2 separate regions of the Homo sapiens genome follow, and region 2 is linked to region 1. The links are contacts of gene promoters, found by promoter capture Hi-C in human tissues and cell types (Jung and others, 2019). All regions are on one chromosome and are shown on one strand. The core of a region is centred on a gene start or on the middle of the fragment in contact, and the rest is flanking DNA. Distances in the headings are between cores, read along the strand shown.

Evidence for each region. The method cuts DNA at HindIII sites, captures the fragments that hold promoters and counts their contacts. A contact is called where the count stands out against the background at its distance.
Region 2: a contact is called between a fragment that was not itself captured here and the fragment with the promoter of CHRM1 in region 1, in 2 of the 25 tissues and cell types used here (mesendoderm cells and thymus).

The regions. Positions count from the first base shown.
Region 1 is chr11:62,918,220-62,925,042 of GRCh38, reverse strand. It overlaps CHRM1 (cholinergic receptor muscarinic 1), which reads left to right and starts at 3,680. Exons shown (of 2, transcript NM_000738.3): 1 at 3,680-3,825. It overlaps LOC105369333 (a long non-coding RNA gene), which reads right to left and starts at 4,883. Exons shown (of 5, transcript XR_002957251.2): 1 at 4,602-4,883. It overlaps CHRM1-AS1 (CHRM1 antisense RNA 1), which reads right to left. Exons shown (of 3, transcript NR_199052.1): 3 at 6,682-6,823. RefSeq lists enhancers at 999-1,058, 2,822-3,356. The HindIII fragment of the contact is 6,896 bases long and covers 469-6,823 here.
Region 2 is chr11:63,168,032-63,175,207 of GRCh38, reverse strand. The region is part of intron 9 of SLC22A25 (solute carrier family 22 member 25); the gene reads left to right. Among named protein-coding and RNA genes, the nearest start is that of SLC22A24, 27 kb to the right of the region's middle. The HindIII fragment of the contact is 5,201 bases long and covers 1,495-6,695 here.

The DNA of each region.
Region 1 (6,823 bases), core at 2,431-4,930:
CGTCTCAAAAAAAACAATAAAATAAAATAAAATAATAAGAATATAGAGGCCGGGCGGATGCGGTGACTCACGCCTGTAATCCCAGCACTTTGGGAGGCCAAGGTGGGTGGATTATTTGAGGTCAGGAGTTCGAGACCAGCCTGGCCAACATAGCGAAACCCCGTCTCTACTAAAAATACAAAAATTAGCTGGGCGGTAGTGGCGCGCGCCTGTAATCCCATCTACTCGGGAGGCTGAGGCAGGAGAATCCCTTGAGCCTGGGAGGCGGAGGTTGCCGGTAAGCCGAGATCACGCCACTGTACTACAGCTTGGGCGACAGAGTGAGACCCTGTCTCACAAATATATATATATATATATATATATATATATATATAGAGAGAGAGAGAGAGAGAGAGAGAGAGAGAGAGAGAGAGCACTTAGCAGTTCCTGACACATAGTAAGTGCTCAATAAGTGTTATAAAAAAGAACTGCCGGACGCGGTGGCTCAGTAATCCCAGCACTTTAGAAAGCTGAGGGGGGCGGAGGCGGGCGGATCACTTCAGCTCAGGAGTTCAAGACCAGCCTGGCCAACATGGTGAAACCCTGTCAATAAAAAATTTAAAAAAAAAAAAAAAAAAAAAAAAAGCCAGTGGGGTGGCGCGCGCCTGTAGTCCCAGCTACTCAGAGTGGGTGAGGGGGTAGGGCTGCGGTGGGAGGATCGCTTGAGCCCGGCAGGCAATTGCAGTGAGCTCTGATCGCGCCACTGCACTCCAGCTTGGCCAAGAGACCGAAACCCTGTATTAAAAAAAAAAAAAAAAACCGCAGTGATGGCTTTCACTTTTTGCAGACGCACGTGCCACGTTTTACCTGCAGAAGCTCAACTAACCCGTCAAACAGCCTGGTCGGGGAGGTATTTCTACCCTTCTTGTCACTGATGAAGAAACTGAGACCTAGAGAGGGGGCCTAGCTTGCTCAGGCCGCTTCAACTAGAAAAAGGCCAAGCTGAATTCGCATTCAGGGCACTCTCCTCTTGCACAGTAAGGGGGCCGAGACTGGGGCCGAGCCGCGCAAGGGCGACTCCACGTTCCCTTGGTGGCCTGGAGGACTGAATTCTCGACCAGGCGACCAAAAATAACAACCAGCAGGAGCCGAGACCCGAGAGTCAGACCCCACCCAACCCAGCCAGAAATGAGGGAGAACTGGAGGGGGTCGCGCGGGGGCGGGGCCAAAGCCCCACGTGCGCCGCCTGCAGCCGCTTCAAGAAGCCCTTTGTCGCGAGCAGCCGCGTTCGTGCCGCACTCGGAGGCTTAAAATAAAGACAATGTTCCCAGCCTCCCTGCGGCTAAATCGGGCGCGAGTGCGGGGGTGGTGAGCGAGCCGGGCGGGAGCGCTTCTCCAGGCCGTACCTCTCTTCTCCCCTCCTGCCTCAGTTTCCCCATCTGATAAGGGTGAGCTAGCCAAGTCTGGGCGGGGACGTCAGAAGAGTGATACAGTGGTGGGGGTGGCGGGGGGCGTCATCCCCCTGCGTCCGCGACTGCACAGACTTCAGAAGAAAGCCGCGTGGGACAGAGGGGGGCACTCAGGAGGAGGCAGGGGAAAGCTGGACACCCTCCCCACCCGCCCACAAAATAAGTGTTTTTATTTCTAAAGGGACGTGTGCAGAGGCGGTGGGAGAAGAGAAAAGGGAGACCAAGGAGACTGGGGGGAGGTGGCAAAGAGGGAGCCTGATTCAGATTCGGAAATGGATGTTGAGCGTGGAGGCCTAACACCCCCACACTCAGCCACGTGTACGCGCACAAGTACACGCAGCCCCACCGCGCCGCCCAAGCCGCAGCCGCAAACCCAGGGCAGCCCAGCAGGGGGCATCCCGAGTCCGCGCCCAAGGGTAGGGACTGGTCAAGTTCTGACCCAACCCTGACCGGCTGGGTGACCCTGGGATGGAAAGGGGATGCTCACTTAGATTTCTCTCCAAGCTGCAGCGTCTGCTTGACTTCAGCAGGGAGGAGGACTGGGTGCCTGCTGGAACCCCAGCTGGCTTTGAGAAGCACAGATGCCCCCACATGTACCTGCCACGTGTGCCCACCAGTAGCTGCTGACCAAACCCCAGGAACTCCAGTTTCAGCTCCACTTGGCTCCATTGGCCAACTGGGCTCCTGGGTGAGAAAGCCCCAGGTTACCCTCAGGCACCAGCATTGGCGGGGTTGTGGGGGCGGGGGGCGGCGCTTGGTGGGGAAATGAGTAGGGGAAACCCCTGCCCCAGACTCCAGAGCCCTGGGCTTAGAGCCAAGTGACCTGAGCCCAAACACCTGCCCACCACATGCTAATCATACCTCTGCTCTTCAGATTTCTCACCTACAAAATGGGGATAATTGATGCTCCCATTCCTTCCCACCTCTCACCCCAAGACTTCGACACAGCCCAGTGGGCAAAGAACACAGCAGCCCCAGAAGGCAGTCCCTGCAGCCTCCAACTCTCCTCCCCAGTCAGCTCCCGGGGAGGTCTCTAGGGCCAAACAGAGGCGGTGCAGGACCCACATCTCTAGGGCAAACGGCCCCCCAGGGGTTCTATCTCTGAGGAAGCTCAACACAGAAGTCCAGACCAGCCTGGCAGGGAGGGATGCTGGCCTCACCCAGTAGGGCTGAGGGAGATTGGGAGGAGGGCTCATCTCCTCCCAGGTACACACCTGTGAGCCCTGAGTGGGAGTCAGGGGAGACAGAGCTTGACAAGCTGGGAGGAGAGCTGTCTGTCTGCCTGTCTGTCTTCCAAGTGGAAGCTTGGGGTGGAGCAGGCAGGTAGAGGCTGCCTCACTTGTCAGAATTAGCAAGTTCCACAGTTGGGCAACACTCAGCCACACATCAGATACAGACACACGTGTGCACACGCGTCCTGCCTCCAGACTGATAGGGTCACACCTGCACTTACACAGGCTGCATGGTGACATGAGTACACAGGGACACACATATGCAAGGCACTCAGCCGCACATGGGGCAGGCACCTGGCCCTCTACTCATCCCCGAAAAGCAGACACCCATATACCCTCACAACAGGCTATGCATAGCCCAATGCTAGCGCACACAGCCCAGCATGCGGGCACGTTCACTCAGCCCCCGGGCGGGTGCGCCAGCCCTCTGGGTCTGTTCCAAGTTGGAGCCTCTCACGTGAGGCCCAATGTGTCATTTCCAAACAGAAGGAATCTAGCTCTCTCACAGCAGGGAGGAAGAGCAGGGTGTGTAGTTGGGTGGGTGGGTGCGTGGGCATGTGCAGGGGGGAGGGCGTGTGTGCGAGGGAAGCAGGCATGTGAATACCAGGGCATGTGTGTTGGGGCATGGTGCACAGGGGCTGGGGGCTCTAAGGTTGGGTGGGGGGAGGAGCCCAAGGAAACAGTGTGCCTTTGTGAGGGTGTGTGTGCCGCCGGGTCTGTGCAGTGGGTGTGGGTGTTTGTCTCCCTGTATCCGCCTTCTCTCCCGTCCGGGACTTTTAGCCTTCCTGGGCTCGCCTTCCTCATGTCCTTTCTCCTCCCTCTTGGGGCTCAAATTGGGTGCCCTGGTGAAGGAGGGGGGCACACTCCAGAACCTAGTCCAACCCCAGACGCTGCCTGAGGCTTCCCTCCAGCTCCCCTCCCTTCCTTTTCTCCCTTTCCTCCCTCCCTCTCTTTCCCTTTCTCCCTCCCCGCTAAGGCTGGCGTGCCAGGGGGTGGGACATGCCAATCACTGGCTGTGCCTCTCCCGCTGCCAGCACAGGGCGCAGCTCCCCCTGGGAGCCAGGTGTTTGGGTCCCTGGAGACGCCGCAGGCCCCCAGGGAGGCAGTGGGGCTGAGGACCCTACAGACCCCTCTTCAGCCCCGTGGTGAGTACATTTGGGAGGGCTTGGGAGGGGCTGCACTAAGGTAGAGGGTAGGAGGGTCCTGGGGAGCGGGGGAGGGCAGGGATCAGGATGAGATGGAAATAGGGATGGACTCACAGAGATAGGAGGAGGCCAGGGAGGGGTCTAGAGGGCAAGGGGGCTCTGTAGCATTGAACACTGACTGCTCCAAACACTCGGCCTCCTGGCTTTGAGTGGATATAGCTGATGTTTTTCTGGGCTTCTGCTGGCAGAGGAGATGGAGATCCCCCTCAGGAAACTGGACCTGAGGCCCAGAAGGGATTAGGCTGCCTGGTAGCAAGCAGAACCCCCAACACCCTAGGGGCAGAGTGGGAAGGGCAAAGGGCCAGGAAGCAGCCCTTGCCACCAGCATCCTGTGGGAGGTTGACCCCCATCTTGATGGGGGTGCCAGTCCCAGAACCTCCTGTCCTCCCTCAGGGCACCCTGAAACCCACCACCCCCGTCCACCTCAGCTCCCCCAAGATGGACTGAATCAGGCTGCTGGCCAGATAGAGAAGCTAGAAGCCAAGGTGGGTGTCAGGCCAGAAGCCAGCAGGAGACCAGGCAAAGAGCCCCAGGGCTCTTTGGGGACAAATGGGCATGTGGGTGGCCACACTAGCCAGGGAAGGTGGCCCTGACGTGCGCAGGGGCCCAGAGGACCCTCCTTATGTTTCTAGTATCTTGGGCTCCCGCAGGGTGGGTCTCAGTCCTATATCCAGGCAATGCATGGATACCAATGGGCACCCACGCCAGGTACTCACCCCAGTGCCCGCAGACTGCACAACATGGGGATGGGCTAGGGGCCAGGAACTCTGATGCTTGTAGAGTTGTCAGCTCCTGGGCAGGCCAGCTGGGGAGGGGGTCGTCAGCTCTCATTAGGTCATCCAGACATGTGCAGCTTAGAGGTTATCAGAGCCAATGGAGAGGGGTTCACATCTTTGCACAAAACACACCTGCAGCTCCACCCAGACTGACCCAAGACCCCTGCCCAACTGGCTGGAAGGAGTCAGGCAGTCTCCAGTAGCCAGACAGTCTCCTTTCTCAGGGTAATCAGCTGTTCAGTGGGCTGTCAGATGAGAGTTCTCTGCCCTCTGACCTCAGCCACCAGGCAAGCTGCAGTCGCTATCGCGGCTGAGATATGAAAGGGAAGGAGATAGTGAAATGGGCTGCAGAAGATGTGGGTCTTGGCTCGCAGCTGACAGCTGGCGGTTGGAGTTCTGAGAACTGGATTCTGAAGTGTAATGGGGAGTCCAAAGTGTCAAGAAGGGGCTAACCAGAGGTCATGTCAGACCTAGAAAGGAGGCTTTCTATTGTATGGAGGGACTGAGGCTGAGAAAGGGAAAGGGACATGCTCATGGTCGGAGAAGGGATATGTAGGGATCCAGCTGGGGCTCGGACCCCTTCTCCGCATCCTCAGCACAACACTGCGCTGCCGCCTCCATGAGCAGGAAGATGGGGTGGGAGAGCAGGGGGCGCAGTAAGCTCTGAGACGCAGAAGCTTGGGCTCCCAGCAGGCGGGGAGAGGTGGGTGAATTGCGCTGGGTTTCTGCTCTGCTGTGGTGCCATGGTGATGCCTACAAGGATGGAGGAGGGAGGGAGAGAGAAGAAAGGAAATGAGGAGGAGAGTGCAAGGAGCCAGGAGCAGGGGGCTTGCGGAGAGGAGGATGAGGGACCCAGAACCTCTGATGCCACACTGGCAGAGTGAGGTCTAGGGTCCAGCTGCTCATGCCCAGGCTCTGTCATGGTCTGGCCAAAGTCAGGCAACTGCTTAAGATCCATCATGGGTGAGCAAATTTGGCAGTGATTCTAGGGCTGATGCTTCTCTTCCAGCTAAGCAGTGTGTTTCATGTAGCATTTAACTGATGGCTGCTGCCCTCCACAAGACTAGTTGGCCCTCCCAATGGCAACTGTTGAGCCTTAAAAATGTGATAAATTCTGTTTACTCCCTCATTCTCAAAGCCAGACATCAGGGGTGGAAGTTTTGTGCACCTTAATGGGTCAAGAGCTGCTGTCAAAGAAAAGTTAACCCCGAGGGGAGAGCTGCCTCGTATGGGCTGGCTTCTGGGGTCAGGCCCTAGCAGAAGGGATCAGTGAGTAGACCTGGCCAGAAGGAGCGCCCTCCTCATTGCATATGTGAGGCCTCAGGTGCCCAACCCCACAGCCCCCTCCACATACCTCCCACTCCCCAATGTTATCCCCTCTTCCTAACCAGGACTCTACCAGCTTCCAGGCCCAGAATCACAAGATGGCTCCGCTCCTCCCTCCTAAATATCTTCCCCAGCATCCCCTCATTCCCTCCCTCCCCTTCTGTACTCTTTGGCCAGCGGTACGTTCAGAAAAGCCTGGTGTTCAGGAATCCCTCTCCCCATTTCCCTTTCCCTGCCTCCCCCAGTGGTTCTCTCCACTCCCAGTTGCTCTCACAAGCCAGATCCCCAGCCCCTAGGGATTGGTCCTGGGCGCTGGGAGTCAACAGTCTGGCCTGCTGTAATAAAGGCTCTGACCTCATCCCTTAACCCTTTGAGCCCAGGCTAACATTCTCCTCTCCCCAGTGACAAATGCTTTGGCACGTCCATGTCTGTCCTGGCACCTCACTTAGCTTCCCTGCAGCCGGGTGAGGCAGGGTTTCCTTGGTCCACTTTACAGACAAGGATGCTCTTGGCTGTTTTTCTCCTATGCTCTCCAGCCAGGCAGGGCCTCACTCAGGGAAGCAGGGACCTGGCAGATGAGATGTGGGAGCTCAAGGGAGAAGAGGGGCCTCTGGACCATGCTCTGGACCTGGTCCTGACCCCCACAGGTTCACCCTCAGGCTCCAGGGTCTGAAGTTGAGTACACACACGTACATTTATTCCACAGGTATTTATTGAGCAACTACTATCTGCCAAGCCCTGGGATAAAGCATTGAATGAGACAGACGCAGCCCTTACCCTGCCCTTTAAAGAGCTCCAGTAGACCCACCCTCTTCCCACAGCACTGTTATCACACA
Region 2 (7,176 bases), core at 2,846-5,345, 250 kb before region 1:
AATAGTATAGCCCCTATGGAAAGCAGTAGGACTACCATATGATTCACCAATCCTACTTCTAGGATCTCAGTTTTTCAAAGAAACAATTGAAATCAGGATTGGGAAGAGATATTTGCACTCCCATGTTCATTGCAACATTATTCATAATTGCCAAGATGTAGAAGCAACTTAAATGTCCATTGACATATGGATAAGTAAAATGTGGTACGTACTCATGATGGAATATTAGTCAGCCATGGAAAGAAAAATGTCATATCCAACATGTTTGAAACTTGAGGACATTATGCTAAGTTAAATATGCCAGGACAGAAGGACAAACACCGCCAATTCCCCTTATATGAGATATCTAAAATAATCAAATTTATAGAAGCAGAAAGTAGAATCATAGTTTCCTGGGGCAGAGGGCAGAGGGAAATAGGAAGTTCCCATTTAATGGGCATAAAGTGTCAGTTACGCAAGATGCTGTGCAACATTATGCATACAGTTAAGAATATTTTACTGTACACTTAAAAATTTGTTAACAGGGCAGAACTCGTGTTATGCATTTTTACCACAGTTTTAAAAAGTAAATAGGTGTTTTGAGAGTTCCCAGCTAAACTGGGATTTCAGTATCTGAGTGACTGGCAAGCCTGCCCTAAGGGAAAAAGAAGAGGAACTAGACGTGGGTGATTTCAGTGCCTTTCACAGGATACGTGTTTTACCTGGTGGACAGCTAGTGCCTAGTTGTCCAAACCATAACTAGGAAGGTTTGGACAACTAGGTAGTCACACAGGAAAATAGCTTAGACTGGCATATGCCATTGTGGTTCTTATCTGATCTATGTGCAATTTATGCCTGCCTGACCATTGCTCTGCCACTGGGAGCCCAATCTTGTGTTCTCATTGCTATCCTAGAGAAAATCCAACCTTGATAGACTAGATTAAGAAAATGTGGCACATATACACCATGGAATACTATGCAGCCATAAAAAAGGATGAGTTCATGTCCTTTGCAGGGACATGGATGAAGCTGGAAACCATCTCATTCTCAGCAAACTCACAAGATCAGAAAACCAAACACCGTGTGTTCTCACTGATAAGTGGGAGTTGAACAATGAGAACACATGGACACAGGGAGGCGAACATCACACACCAGGGCCTGTCAGGGGGTGGTGGGTTAGGGGAGGGATAACATTAGGAGAAATACCTAATGTAGGTGATGAGTTGATGGGTGCAGCAAACCACCATGGCACTTGTATACCTATGTAACAAAAAGGCACGTTCTGCACATGTATCCCAGAACTTAAAATGTAATAAAAAAAAAAAAAAAGAAAAGAAAATCCAACCTTGAATAGCTAGCCCCTAGTTCTTCCAATGGAAAGCATAAATTCAATGCACTGAACAAAAGGAAACAAGTTCAAGGATGTCTACTTACAGATCCTGGGTAAGGATCACCAGATCACATGATGCAGAAATAAAGAATCATGCACAGAGAGAGAAATGTACATGGCAGTGAGCAGTATACATAAGGAAGTAGGTTGTGGGTCACTTAGAGCTTCCAGGCAAATGCCTGAATTGTACACTTACAAGAAGCACTGGGAAAGTCACAAACCCAATCTGCTAGGCAGGAGAGATGGCTCCAAGTTTTTCTCTCTGGCCATTTGGGAGTGGCATAGAAATGGAAACTGTGTCAAGGGTGACTGAGCCCTGCCTCTGGTATAAGAAAGTTAAACTTGAATTCAAAATGGATGCTGACATAACATAAAATTATAAGTATTCACTACAATGAGATACAAATGTATGTTGAATATATAATTAAAGTTTATTGACTGCCTCTTTTTTAAAATTATACTTTAAGTTCTGGGATACATGTGCAGAACATACAGGTTTGTTACATTGGTATACATGTGCCATGGTGGTTTTCTGCACCCATCAACCCATTATCTAGGTTTTAAACCATGTATGCATTAGGTATTTGTCCCAATGCTCTCCCACCCCTTGCCCCCCACCCCCAACAGGCCCCAGTGTGTGATGTCTCCCTCCCTGTGTCCATGTGTTCCCATTGTTCAGTTCCCACTTATGAGTGAAAACCTGTGTTGTTTGCTTTACTGATCCTGTGTTAGTTTGCTGAGAATGATGGTTTCCAGCTTCATCCATGTCCCTGTTAGGGACAGGAACTCATCTTTTTTTATGGCTGCATAGTATTCCATGCTGTATATGTGCCACATTTTCTTTATCCAGTCTATCATTGATGGGCATTTGGGTTGGTTCCAAGTCTATGCTATTGTGAATAGTGCTGCAGTAAACATACATGTGCATGTGTCCTTATAGTAGAATGATTTCTAATCCTTTGAATAATATACCCAGTAATTGGATTGCTGGGTCCAATGGTATTTCTTTTTCTAAATCCATGATGAATCAACACACTGTCTTCCACATGGTTGAACTAATTTACACTCCCACCAACAGTGTAAAATTGTTTCTATTTCTCCACATCCTCTTCAGCATCTGTTGTTTCCTAACTTTTTAAGGATCACATTAGGCTATCCACCAGGTTAAAAAAAAAAAAAAAAAAAGGTATCCTGTGAAAGGCACTGAAAACACCCACACCTAGCTCCTCTTCAAACTGGCATGAGATGGTATCTCGATGTGGTTTCGATTTGCATTTGTCTGATGACCAGTGATGATGAGCTTTTTTTCATATGTTTGTTGGCCACATAAATGTCTTATTTTGAGAAGTGTCTGTTCACATCATTTGCCCACTTTTTGATGGGATTTTTTTCTTGTAAATTTGATTAGTTCCTTGTAGATTCCAGATATTAGAACTTTGTCAGATGTATAGATGGCAAAAATTTATCCCATTCTGTAGGTTGCCTGTTCACTCTGATGATAGTTTCTTTTGCTGTGCAGAAGCTCTTTAGTTTAATTAGATCCCAGTTGTCAATTTTGGCTTTTGTTGCAATTGCTTTTGGTGTTTTAGTCCTGAAGTCTTTGCCTGTGCCTATGTCCCAAATGGTATTGCCTAAGTTGTCTTCTAGGGGTTTTATGGTTTTAGGTATTATATTTAAGTCTTTTATCCATCTTGAGTTAATTTTTGTATAAGGTGTAAGGAAGGGGTCCAGTTTCAGTTTTCTGCATATGGCTAGCCAGTTTTCCCAGCACCATTTATTAAATAGGATATCCTTTCCCCATTGCTCATTTGTGTCAGGTTTGTCAAAGACGAGATGGTAGTAGATGTGTGGTGTTATTTCTGTTCGCTCCATTGGTCTATGTATCTGATTTGGTGCCAGTACCATGCAGTTTTGATTACTTTAGCCTTGTAGTATATTTGAAGTCAGGCAGTATGATGCCTCCAGCTTTGTTCTTTTTGCTTAGCATTGTCTTGGCTATACAAGCTTTTTTAAAATCCATGTGAAATTTAAAGTAGTTTTTTCTAGTTCTGCAAAAAAAGTCAATGTTAGCTTGAGGAATAGCATTGAATCTATAAATTGCTTTGGGCAATATGGCCATTTTCATGATATTGATTCTTTCTATCCATGAGCATGGAATGTTTTTCCATTTGTTTGTGTCCTCTCTTATTTCCTTGTGCAGTGGTTTGTAGTTCTCCTTGAAGAGCTCCTTCACGTCCCTTGTAAGTTGTATTCTTAGGTATTTTATTTTCTTTGTAGCAATTGTGAATGGGAGTTCATTCATGATTTGGCTCTCTGTTTGTCTATTGTTGATGAATAGGAATGCTTGTGATTTTTGCACATTGATTTTGTATTCTGAGACTTTGCTGAAGTTGCTTATCAGCTTAAGGAGTTTTGGGGCTGAGATGATGGGGTTTTCTAAATATACAATCATGTCATCTGCAGAGACAATTTGACTTCTTCTCTTCCTATTTGAATACCCTTCATTTCCTTCTCTTGCCTGGTTACCGTGGCCAGAACTTCCAATACTATGTTGAATAGGAGTGGTGAGAGAGGGCATTCTTGTCTTGTGCCAGTTTTCAAAGGGAACGCTTCCAGCTTTTGCCCATTCTGTATGATATTGGCTATGGGTTTGTCATAAATAGCTCTTATTATTTTGAGATATGTTCCATCTATACCTAGTTTATTGAGTAGTTTACCATGAAGGGTGTTGAATTTGATTGAAGGTCTTTTCTGCATCTATTGAGATAATCGTGTGGCTATTGTCATTGATTCTGTTTACGTGATGGATTATATTTATTGATTTTTCTATGTTGGACCAGCCTTGCATCCCAGGGATAAAGCCTACTTAATCGTGGTGGATAAGCTTTTGATGTGCTGCTGGATTCAGTTTGCCAGTATTGTGCTGAGGATTTTTGCATTGATGTTCATCAGGGATATTGGCCTGAAATTTTCTTTTCTGGTTGTGTCTCTGCCAGGTTTTGGTATCAGGATAATGCTGGCCTCATAAAATATGTTAGGGAGGAGTCCCTCTTTTTCTATTATTTGAAGAATTTTCAGAAGGAATTGTTCCAACTCCTCTTTGCACCTCTGGGAGAATTCAGGTGTGAATCCATCTGGTCCTGGGCTTTTTGAGTTGGTAGGCTATTATTTACTGCCTCAATTTCAGAACTTGTTATTGGTCTATTCAGGGATTCAACTTCTTCCTGGTTTAGTCTTGGGAGGGTGTATATGTCCAGGAATTTATCCATTTCTTCTGGATTTTTAGTTTATTTGTGTGAGGTGTTTATAGTATTCTCTGACGGTAGTTTGTATTTCTGTGGGGTTAGCGGTGATATCCCCTATATCATTTTTTATTGTGTCTATTTTATTCTTCTCTCTTTTCTTCTTTATTAGTCTTGCTAGCAGTCTATTTATTTTGTTGATCTTTTCAGTAAACTGGTTCCTGGATTCATTGATTTTTATGAGTGGTTTTGTGTCTCTGTCTCCTTCTGTTCTGCTCTCATCTTAGTTATTTCTTGTCTTTGCCTAGCTTTTCTTCAATTTGTTCACTCTTACTTCTCTAGTTATTTTAATTGTGATGTTAGGGTATCGATTTTAGATCTTTCTCGCTTTCTGATGTGGGCACTTAGTGCTGTAAAATCCCTCTTAATACTGCTTTTGCTGTGTCCCAGAGATTCTCATACATTTTGTCTTTGTTCTCATTCGTTTCAAATAACTTCTTTATTTCTGTCTTTACTTCATTATTTACCCAGTAGTCATTCAGGAGCAGGTTGTTCAGTTTCCACGTAGTTGAGTGGTTTTGAATGAGTTTCTTAATCCTGAGTTCTAATTTGATTGCACTGTGGTCTGAGAGACTTGTTTGTTATGATTTCTGTTCTTTTGCACTTGCTGAGGAGTGTTTTACTTCCAATTATGTGATCAATTTTAGAATAAGTGCGATGTGGTGCTGAGAAGAATGTATATTCTGTTGATTTGGGGTAGAGAGTTCTGTAGATGTCTATTAGAGATCCACTTGGTCCAGAGTTGAGTTCAAGTCCTGAATATCCTTGTTGATTTTCTGTCTAGTTGATCTAATATTGACAGTGGGATGTTAAAGTCTCCTACTATTATTGCGTAGGAATCTAAGCCTCTTTGTAGGTCTCTAATAACTTGCTTTATGAATCTGGGTGCTCCTGTGTTGTGTGTGTATATATTTAGGATAGTTAGCTCTTCTTGTTGCATTGATTCCTTTATCATTATGTAATGCCCTTCTTTGTCTTCTTTGATTTCTGTTGGCTTAAACTCTGTTTTATCAGAGAATAGGATTGCAATCCCTGCTTTTTTTTCTTTCTCTTTGCTTGGTAAATATTTCTTTATCCCTTTATTTTGAACCTATGTGTGTCTTTGCACATGAGATAGGTCTCCTGAATACAGCACACCAGTGGGTCTTGACTCTATGCAATTTGCCAGTCTGTGTCTTTTAATTGGGGCATTTAGCCCATTTACATTTAAGGTTAACATTGTTATGTTTAATTTGATCCTGTCATCATGATGTTAGCTGCTTAGTTTGCACATTAGTTGATGCAGTTTCTACATAGCATCATTGGTCTTTATATTTTGGTATGTTTTTGCAGTGGTTGGTACCAGTATTTCCTTCCCATATTTAGTGCTTCCTTCAGGAGCTCTTGTAAGGCAGGCCTGCTGGTGACAAAATCCCTCAGCATTTACTTGTCTGGAAAGAATTTTATTTCTCCTTTGCTTATGAAGCTTAGTTTGGCTGTATATGAAATTCTGGGTTGAAAATTCTTTTATTTTAAGAATGTTGAATATTGGCATTCACTCTCTTCTGGATTGTAGGGTTTTTGCAGAGAGATCCACTGTTAGTCTGATGGACTTTCCTTTGTAGGTAACCTGACCTTCCTCTGTGGCTGCCCTTAACATTTTTTTCCTTCATTTCAATCTTGAAGACTCTGACAATCATGTGTCTTGGTGTTGCTCTTCTCAAGGAGTATCTAAGTGGTGTTCTCTGTATATCCTGAAATTGTATGTTGGCCTGTCTTGCTAGGTTGGGGAAGTTCTCCTGTATAATGTCCTGACATGTGATTTCCAACTTGCTTTTATTCTCCCTGTCACTTTCAGGTACACCAATCCATCATAGATTTGGTCTTTTCACAGAGTCCCATATTTCTTGGAGGCTTGGTTTGTTCCTTTTATTCTTTTTTCTCTAGTCTTTCCTTCACACTTTATTTCATTTAATTGACCTTCAATCTCTCATATCCTTTTTTCCACTTGATTGATTCAGCTATTGATACTTGTGTATGCTTCACAAAGTTCTCGTGCTGTGTTTTTCAGCTCCATCAGGTCATTTATGTTCTTCTCTAAACTGGTTAACTAGTTAGCAGTTCCTGCAACCTTCTATTAAGGTTCTTAACTTCCTTGCATTGGGTTAGAACATGCTTCTTTAGCTCAGGGGAGTTTGTTATTACCCACCTTCTAAAGCCTACTTCTGTCAATTTGTCAAACTCATTCTCCATCCAGTTTAATGCCCTCCCTGGAGAGAAATGTCATCATTTGGAGGAGAAGACGCATTCGGTTTTTTGGAATTTTCAGCATTTTTGCACTGGTTTTTCCTCATCTTTATGGATTTATCTACCTTTGATCTTTGATGCTGATGGCCTTTGGATGGGGTTTTTGTGGGGGCATCCTTTTTGTTGATGTTGATGTTACTTCTCTCTGTTTGTAAGTTTTCTTTCTAACAGTCAGGTCCCTCTTCTGCAGGTCTGCTGGAGTTTGCTGGAGGTCCACTC